Linked DNA regions of Homo sapiens: region 1 is linked to region 2. Evidence: promoter capture Hi-C in human tissues and cell types (Jung and others, 2019). All regions are on one chromosome and are shown on one strand. The core of a region is centred on a gene start or on the middle of the fragment in contact, and the rest is flanking DNA. Distances in the headings are between cores, read along the strand shown. Region 1 overlaps ARHGEF2 (Rho/Rac guanine nucleotide exchange factor 2). Region 2 holds the start of FDPS (farnesyl diphosphate synthase).

Region 1 (4,265 bases), core at 1,680-4,179, 640 kb after region 2:
AGGCACCCAATTCACAACAGATTAAGCAATGTGAAAGGAACTTAATTAGCCTCTTGTTTAATTTCCTCTTTTTGATGATGTTTAAACTAGTTCCAAAACTCCACGTCTATTCCTAGCCCATGCAGGCAATGGAAAATCCCTCACCACCTAAGCACCCATCTTCCCACCCCAGCAGCTCCCTCTGATGGCTTTGCTGGGCTCCGGATATTGGCTCCTCTGGGGGCATCTCTGCTTTATGGGCCCCAGAGGTAAATATTGACAAAGTGTACACAGGTCCAAGTTAGAGATGAACTGCATGCACAAAGACCTACTCTTGTGGGGGAGTGGAACGAGGAGGGTGCAGTGGAGGATGGAGAAGGGAGGGCTGGGCAGAGCAGGCGGCCTGGAGCTCCCCTTGGAACGGAGGGAAGGCAATGTTTTGGTGAGAACCTGGGCCCTGGCTCCCTGGAACACCAAGCCAAATGGCTTTGAAACTTCAGCAGGAGGGACAGAGGTTAAGACTGTGGGTTCCCAAAAGTGGGTTAGGGAGGGGACAGGGGACACAACGGTGAAAGATGTGAGGAAGAGGCCTAGCTCTCAGGAGTAGACACATCAGACAAATGCTTGTGCCCCATGTTCTGGGGCTGAAGGTGTGTGTGTGTGTGTGTGTGTGTGTGTGTGTGTGTGTGTGTGGAGGGGGTTGGTACGGGGTGGCAGAAGGGACAGCACTGCTTCAAAGAAAGCAGCGGGGGACTTCACACCCACTCTGGGCTGTGTCTCCAGGTTTCCATGTTCTCTGCTGACCAGCATCTCTCATTGGATCTGTGGGGCATTCTGGGAGAGCCTGCATTCCCCTTTCTTGGTGGTCTCTGCATGCTGTCTAATATCCTCACCCTACCCCCACCTACCTTCCTTCCCCACCTAAAGGTGCCACCCTCACAGCTCTGGGTCGGAGATACTTCCAGCTGACCTGGAAGACAGCTGCTGAGCCCTGTGTCCCTGTGTGTGAAATGTGAAGCCCTGGTGTTTTTTTTTTTTTCTTTTCTCCAGGCAGGGTCTTGCTCTGTCACCCAGGCTGGAGTGCTGGAGTGCAGTGGCACAATCTCGGCTCACTGCAACCTCTGCCTCCCGGGTTCAAGCAATTCTCCCACCTCAGCCTCCCAGGTAGCTGGGAATACAGGTGCCCGCCATCACGCCCGGCTAATTTTTGTATTTTTAGTAGAGATGGGGTTTCACCATGTTGGCCAGGCTGGTCTCGAACTCCTGGCCTCAAGTGATCCACCCAACTCAGCTTCCCAAAGTGCTGGGATTATAGGCGTGAGCCACTGCACCCAGCCAGCCCTGGTATTTTTAGGCAGAGTAGCCAAGAGAGAAAAGTGGTGGACTGGAACTAAGAAGGCCGGCCCCCTCCTGGCCTGGCAAGCTTCGTGCACCTAGGTTTCCCGGCCCATAAAATGAGAACAATTCCCCATTCTCAGGATCCCCGTAATGGCTGAGAAAGCACCTTGTAAAGGCTTGATGCTGGTGGATGAGAGTTACAGAAGGGGAGGGTGCTGGCTGCTCCCCCAGCCTGCTCCCCATGTGACTTCAATTCCTCTTTCTAGCTGAGGGCCTGAGCCCCCTTCTCCTGATCTGACCCCACAGGCTCCAACAGGGATGTGAATTCATACCAGCATTTATACAACCCTAGACTCTCACCTCCTCCCCTCCCCCACAGCCCCAAAGTAAGTACCAACTGGGAACAGGAAGTAAAACCAACTAAAACCAAGAACTGAAACCAGCTCATCTCTCACTGCCTCTCAAAGAGGGACAGTAAATGAGCAGCTCCTGTGACGGGTAACCCCAGGGCCCGACATCATGGAGATCAACAAGGGCCTAGTGGGGGATGGATCTGACAATGAATGACACTGGGGATGGGGGCAATAGGTGGAGGTGATTGCTGAGCATGGCATACAAATACGATGAACACACTTTTCCTGATACCGGAATTCCCAACATTGGAACCTGTGTGCCCCTTTGTTTTTATCCTTGTATTTGTGAATTAAAAAAACAAAAAAAAGATTTGCAGTGGTTACTTTTGTTAGTGCCCCCTCTCTTCAGTGAGGCAGAGGCTGTCCTTGCGGTGAGAGGAAAAGGCCCCTTTCAGAGGAACTTAGGTCACTGCCCGGCTCTCTACTACCATCCTCCTCAGAATTGGCAGACATTATGGAAGACAGTACCTTATGGAGTTCCAGGTTTTTAATTTTCCCTGAATTTTTTTTTTAAACAACAAAATTGGCAAGAAGAAAATTCTTCGACATTTGGGGGCTGGTCGACATTTGGGGGCAAGGGTTCCACTGAAAAATCCCCCAAATTCACGCTGAGGTTTCAGGTCATGGTTGCTGAGGTGGAAGATGAGGTCAGGGCTCTTGGAGATTTTCCAACCCACCCTAGAACTTGTTTCTAAATGGCTGGGGAAGAGGTCAGTATAGGTCCCCCCGTTACTGCAGATGAAGGCAGAAGTCATTCTCTCCCCCACCCCTCAACTTCTTCAGAGATGTGGAGATAGGAGGCTTCGATCTCTAATTGCCTACGATCTCTTAAAAATATAAAACACGTGCAGTTGACTTTGGTACAAAAAAGAAAACAAAAGAACAACAAAACATTCTGGTCCCTGTGGGTTTTTTCCCTCACCCCCAACAAACCATTATGGCCACCCCAACCTTTATTCCATCAACTCCAGGAAGCCAGGTTATCTCCCAGGGCTTCCATGAAGGACGGAGAAAGGGAGAACAGCAGTAAGAGGTTGAGGGGAGAGGAGAAAGGGACATGGCCCTGCCCACAGCCCTCCTTTATTTAAAGGGCAGTAGGGTGCTGTGGCTGCAGCCTCTCCTCCAAGACGGATGTTGCAGGGGAGGGCCGTTAGGGCAAGAACCCAGCAGCTGCGTGGATGAGCCTGAATATACCCCAGTAGTGTTCAAGGACAAGGCCCTCTGATCCCTATGGCTTGGTTCCCATGTCCCTGGTCCTTTAAATCTCCCCTCTCCCCCCATAACTAATAAACAATAAATAAATAAATTTTCCTAAAGTTGCGGGAAGAAGGCATGAACCACTGGCATCTGTGGTGTAGCTTTCGGATGTCCCAGGGGGTGTTGTGGCCTAATTCCCCTAGCTTCTTAAATGGCCCCAGGTATCCAAGGATCCCAAGAGCTGGCAAGGACAATTTGCAGTTCTTTCAAATGTTCCCTCATCATTGGCAAATTGGAGTCCCCAAGGTTAGCCCCCTCAGTAATGTTCTTCAGTGGGGCACGGGGCAGGGGGGAGGGGCCCCCTTAGCTCTCGGAGGCTACAGCCTCCCCGTCGCGGCTCTCCGTCTCCTCCGGGATGTCCTGCATTCTGGTAAAGTCTGAAGGGGGACAGGACAAAGCCAGTGAGTTAGCAGAGACTCCCATGAGGAACTGTACCCCTAGACTAATGCCTCCCCATCTGCAGGCTCAGGGGGCTCTGGGGCTGTGAAGGGATGACAGGGTTCTGTAAATTCTTGGGTGAGAGGAAAACCTTTGGCAACAAAGTAAGCAAGGTATCCATACCTAGGTACCGGATACACTTTTACAGTATCCAAAGATACAATTTGATTAGGAAAATACAAAATACTTTAAGGTTAAAGCTTTTGGTAATTTTTTATTTCATGAACCAACTGTAAAAACTTGAAGTTCTTTGAAACTTTTTTTACTTTAAAAACTGGCCCCATGGCTCGTGCTTATAATCCTAACACTTTGGGAGGCTAAGGTGGGAGAATCACTTAAGGCCAGGAGTTGGAGACCAGCCTGGCCAACATGGTGAAACCCCATCTCTACTAAAAATGCCAAAAATTAGCTATATGTGGTGGCATGCGCCTGTAATCCCAGCTACTCGGGAGGCTGAGGAACAAGAATTGCTTGAACTTGGGAGGTGGAAGTTGCAGTGAGCTGAGATTGTGCCACTACACTCCAGCCTGGGTGACAGAGCAAAACTGTCTCAAAAAAAACAAAACAAAACAAAACAAAAAACTATACCTTCCCAGGCACAGTGGTATGTACCTGTAGCCCCAGCTACTTGGGAGGATCACTTAAGCCCAGGAGTTTGAGTCCAGCCTCGGCAACAGCACAAGACCCTCTCTCTAACATAAAAAATTTTAGAGTGAGATCCTCTGTCTGGGTCTCCGGGTCTCTTTCTGTCGCCCAGGCTGGAGCAATCACGGAGTACTGTCAACTCAACCTGCTGGGCTCAAGTGATCCTCTCACCTCACTCTCACTCTCCGTAGCTAG
Region 2 (4,041 bases), core at 595-3,094:
CTCCTGCCTCAGCTTCTCGAGTAGCTGGCACTACAGGTGTGCGCCACCATGCTGGGCTAATTTTGGATTTTTTAGTAGAGATGGGGTTTCACTATGTTGGCCAGGCTGGTCTTGAACTCCTGACCTCGTGATCCGCCCACCTTGGCCTCCCAAAGCTCTGGGATTACAGGCGTGAGCCACTGCACCCAGCCGTGTTTTGTCCAATTCTTTGTTCAAGATGCCAAGAACCTGGACACCCTCCACCGGTGACAGTACCTTATATACACGGAATCATACAGTATCTGTCCTTTTGAGTCTGGCTTATTTCACTTAGCATAATTGTCAGAGGTGCGTGAACCAGAGCAACTCCATCTTGAATAGGGACTGGGTAGAATAAGGCTGAGACCTACTGGACTGCATTTCCAGTTGGTTTAGGCATTCTAAGTCACAGGATGAGATAGGAGATTGGCTCAAGATACAGGTCATAAAGACCTTGCTGATAAAACAGATTGCAGTAAAGAAACTGGCCAAAACCTACCAAAACCAAGATGGCAACAAGAGTGACCTCTGGTGGTCTTCAACGCTATACTCCTACCACATGCTGTGTCGACATCAGGGAGTTAACTGTATATGGTCTACAAAGCAGAGGCATGAATAATCCAACCCTTGTTTAGCTTATAATCAATAAATAACTGCCTGGGCCAAGTGGCTCGTACTTGTAATCCCAGCACTTTCAGAGGTCGAGGTGGCTGGATCACTTGAGGTCAGGAGTTCGAGACCAGGCTGGCCAATCTGGAGAAACCCCCTCTCTACTAAAAACACAAAAATTAGCTGGGCATGCTGGCAGGCACCTGTAATCCAGGAGAATCACTTGAACCCGGGAAGCGAGGTTGCAGCCTCCCACGTAGCTGGAATTAAGGCGCGGACCAGCACACCTGGGTAATTTTTGTATTTTTAGTAGAGAAGGGGTTTTGCCATGTTGACCAGGCTGGTCTCAGATTCCTGACCGCAGGTGATCCGCCCAAAGTGCTGGAATTACAAGTGTGAGACTCATCTTTTTTTTTTTTTTTTTTTGAGACGGAGTCTTGCTCTGTCTCCCCAGCTAGAGTGCAGTGGTTCGCTGGATCTCAGCTCACTGCAACCTCTGCCTTACGAGTTCAAGCGATTCTCCCGCCTCAGCCCTCCTGAGTGGCTGGGATTACAGGCGCGCGCCACCACGCCCGACTAATTTTTTTTTTTTGTATTTTTAGTAGAGACGGGGTTTCACCACATTGGTCAGGCTGGTCTCGAACTCCTGACCTCATGATCCACCCGCCTCGGCCTCCCAAAGTGCTGGGATTACAGGCGTGAGCCACCGTGCCCGGCCCAAGACTCATCTTTCTTAAGCCCTTAAAGCACTTTGCACACATTACCTCATGGTATTACCACCCTCATTCAACAGATGAGGAAAGCTAGTTTCAAGCAAGTTCACTGAGGATCAGAGACGTTAAATGATTTGCCTAAAGTTAGAGAACTAATAAGTGAGAAAGCTAGTCCTGCTGCGTTTTACTAACGTGCCAATCAGCTGCCCAGGAAGATAATGAAAACTTGAGTAAGACAGGCAGCCAAAGCCACAGCGGGGACGTTCCCAGCCTGGCTCGCTTCCGGCACTGACGCCTCCAGCCGCGACCTCTAGACTTCAGCCCTTCCATTGGTCGTCCGTCACAGTGCCACAGTGCGCCATGCTCACACGACGGCCAGCAGCCAATCAGCGCGGCTCATCTTCGCCCAGCCAGGACACGCAGGATCGCGTTATCTGTCCCTCCCGCGGGCACATTGGGAGTTGTAGTCTAATTATATATTTCCGCCCTTAGTGTGGGGAGAGCGGGAACTACTCGACCCACAGAGCCGATCGCGGAGCGGATTCTGCTTTTAGGAGTACCCGCCAACAAGCGGGACCGAGCAGGAATCCGTATCTGGGAACAGGTGAGAGAGGATGTGTGCTGGGCCTTGGAGGAAGGGGGCCGAGACCGGGCCTTACTTCTGTAACGATACTGTGAGGCATCGGAAGGCCAGCCTGTTGTGTCCGTTTTGAAGGTCGGTGGGCTAGACTGGCTGGCCTTCTAGGGGTGTGGAGACTTCCCAACTCTGCCCTTGTGCTTTCCTGGAATCCCCAATATGCCCGGACCCCGGTTTACTCCTTTGCTGCGAGCCCTTCTCTCCCGTCCAGAGTTGCTCCGAGCCTATCTGCTCAGTCCTAGCGATTCCTGTGGGGCTTGGGACGCGCGGTTCAAGCACCCCGGACCATATGGATGCAGCACCCATGGGTTCTCGCTCCAATGCTTCTTTCCTCCTTGGGGCGTAACTCAGACCCTGGGCACCCCTCTCCACTGCCCAGGGGAGACCTGGGTTCTAGATTTGGCTCTGCCTCTACTATCTTCCTACCTCCTAGAGCCTCAGTTTGGCTTGTGTAAAATAGGATGACTTAAGGGTCCTTTCAGCCCCTAATCCTGGGGTACTTTACTCTGTACCGCCTCCTTACCCAGCCTTGTGCACGCCATCTTGAAGGCACTGAGTTCTAGCCTGTTTATTGTAAGTGGTGATTAGTTGGGTCTCAGTCACCCAGCCATACTTTTTTGTTCCCTGCGTATCCTTCCTGTAATTGTCCCCAAGCACATTCCACAAGAGGGAGGGGCACTCTGGGCTAAGGCTGGGGTGGGAGTTATCTGGGGAGCTGCCACCATGCCTCTGCCTTTGGTGCTTGCCCCTGCAGGGAGTGCTTAGTGCCCCCTCCCTATGCCACTCCCAGGATGCCCCTGTCCCGCTGGTTGAGATCTGTGGGGGTCTTCCTGCTGCCAGCCCCCTACTGGGCACCCCGGGAGAGGTGGCTGGGTTCCCTACGGCGGCCCTCCCTGGTGCACGGGTACCCAGTCCTGGCCTGGCACAGTGCCCGCTGCTGGTGCCAAGCGTGGACAGAGGAACCTCGGTGAGTGTGGTTGGGGTGAGGGGCCTTGGGGAGGGGAGCAGCTGATCAGGTTTCTGACTTGTTTTTCTTCTACTTAGAGCCCTTTGCTCCTCCCTCAGAATGAACGGAGACCAGAATTCAGATGTTTATGCCCAAGAAAAGCAGGATTTCGTTCAGCACTTCTCCCAGATCGTTAGGGTGCTGACTGAGGATGAGATGGGGCACCCAGAGATAGGAGATGCTATTGCCCGGCTCAAGGAGGTGAGGGATTCATGACTTGGGGGAGTAAGGCTTTGGTTCAGTTGCTCTGTACCTGTGTGGCATTCACCTGTGGCTTATGGGGGACTTTTGACAGATGTGAGAGAAAGCTTTTTTTTTTTTTTTGAGACAGAGCCTTGCTCTGTCACCTGGGCTGGAGTGCGATGGTGTGATCTCGGCTTGCTGCAACCTCCACCTCCTGGGTTCAAGTGATTCTCCTGCCTCAGCCTTCTGAGTAGCTGGGATTACAGGTGCGTGCCACCACATCCAGCAAACTTTTGTATTTTTAATAGAGACGGGGTTTCACTGTGTTGACCAGGCTGGTCTCGAACTCCTGACCTCAGGTGATCCACCCACCTCGGCCTCCCAAAGTGCTGGGATTACAGGTGTGAGCCACCGCGCCTGGCCGAGAAAGCTTTTACCTGAGGGACTCGAGTCTGCTCTGGAGAGGTTGGGGCCTGGGCAAGTATACTTACTCAGTCCATCAACCGGACTTTTGGCTCTGATGGAAGGTGGGTCATCCAAACTGCTTTGCTTTGGGGGTGGAGGCCTTGAACCTGGCAAGTCTTAGATTTTGTGTCCTGAAATCAGAAGCTGTTAGGTTGGCAGAGACCGGGGAAGAAGGCAGTCTGATATTGTCCTATCTCCCTGGGGCCTGAGTGAAGTTATTGTATCATTAGAAACCCCTATTCTAGAACATGAACTATTGCTGTGATACTTGCCAATTTTTTTCCTGTTGATTCTGGAGTATCTATTAAAATTCTTTTTATAAATGCTGTCTATCTCATATATCTCAGGGGAATGAAGGGAAAGGGGGGCTTTGCCTATACTGGAATGGGGATTAAAAGAGTCTTGGCCCG

The links. Contacts are between HindIII fragments. The study calls those that stand out against the background at their distance.
Region 1: a contact is called between a fragment that was not itself captured here and the fragment with the promoter of FDPS in region 2, in 1 of the 25 tissues and cell types used here (dorsolateral prefrontal cortex).

The regions. Positions count from the first base shown.
Region 1 is chr1:155,944,652-155,948,916 of GRCh38, forward strand. It overlaps ARHGEF2 (Rho/Rac guanine nucleotide exchange factor 2), which reads right to left. Exons shown (of 22, transcript NM_001162383.2): 22 at 2,203-3,364. The coding sequence ends at 3,291. Among named protein-coding and RNA genes, the nearest start is that of MIR6738, 4.6 kb to the right of the region's middle. The HindIII fragment of the contact is 6,087 bases long and covers 1-4,265 here.
Region 2 is chr1:155,307,022-155,311,062 of GRCh38, forward strand. FDPS (farnesyl diphosphate synthase) reads left to right here and starts at 1,845. Exons shown (of 11, transcript NM_002004.4): 1 at 1,845-1,944; 2 at 2,768-2,944; 3 at 3,022-3,184. The coding sequence starts at 2,769. It also overlaps a transcript of PKLR not described here. RefSeq lists enhancers at 603-672, 1,575-1,704, 2,035-2,204. The HindIII fragment of the contact is 6,116 bases long and covers 1-3,443 here.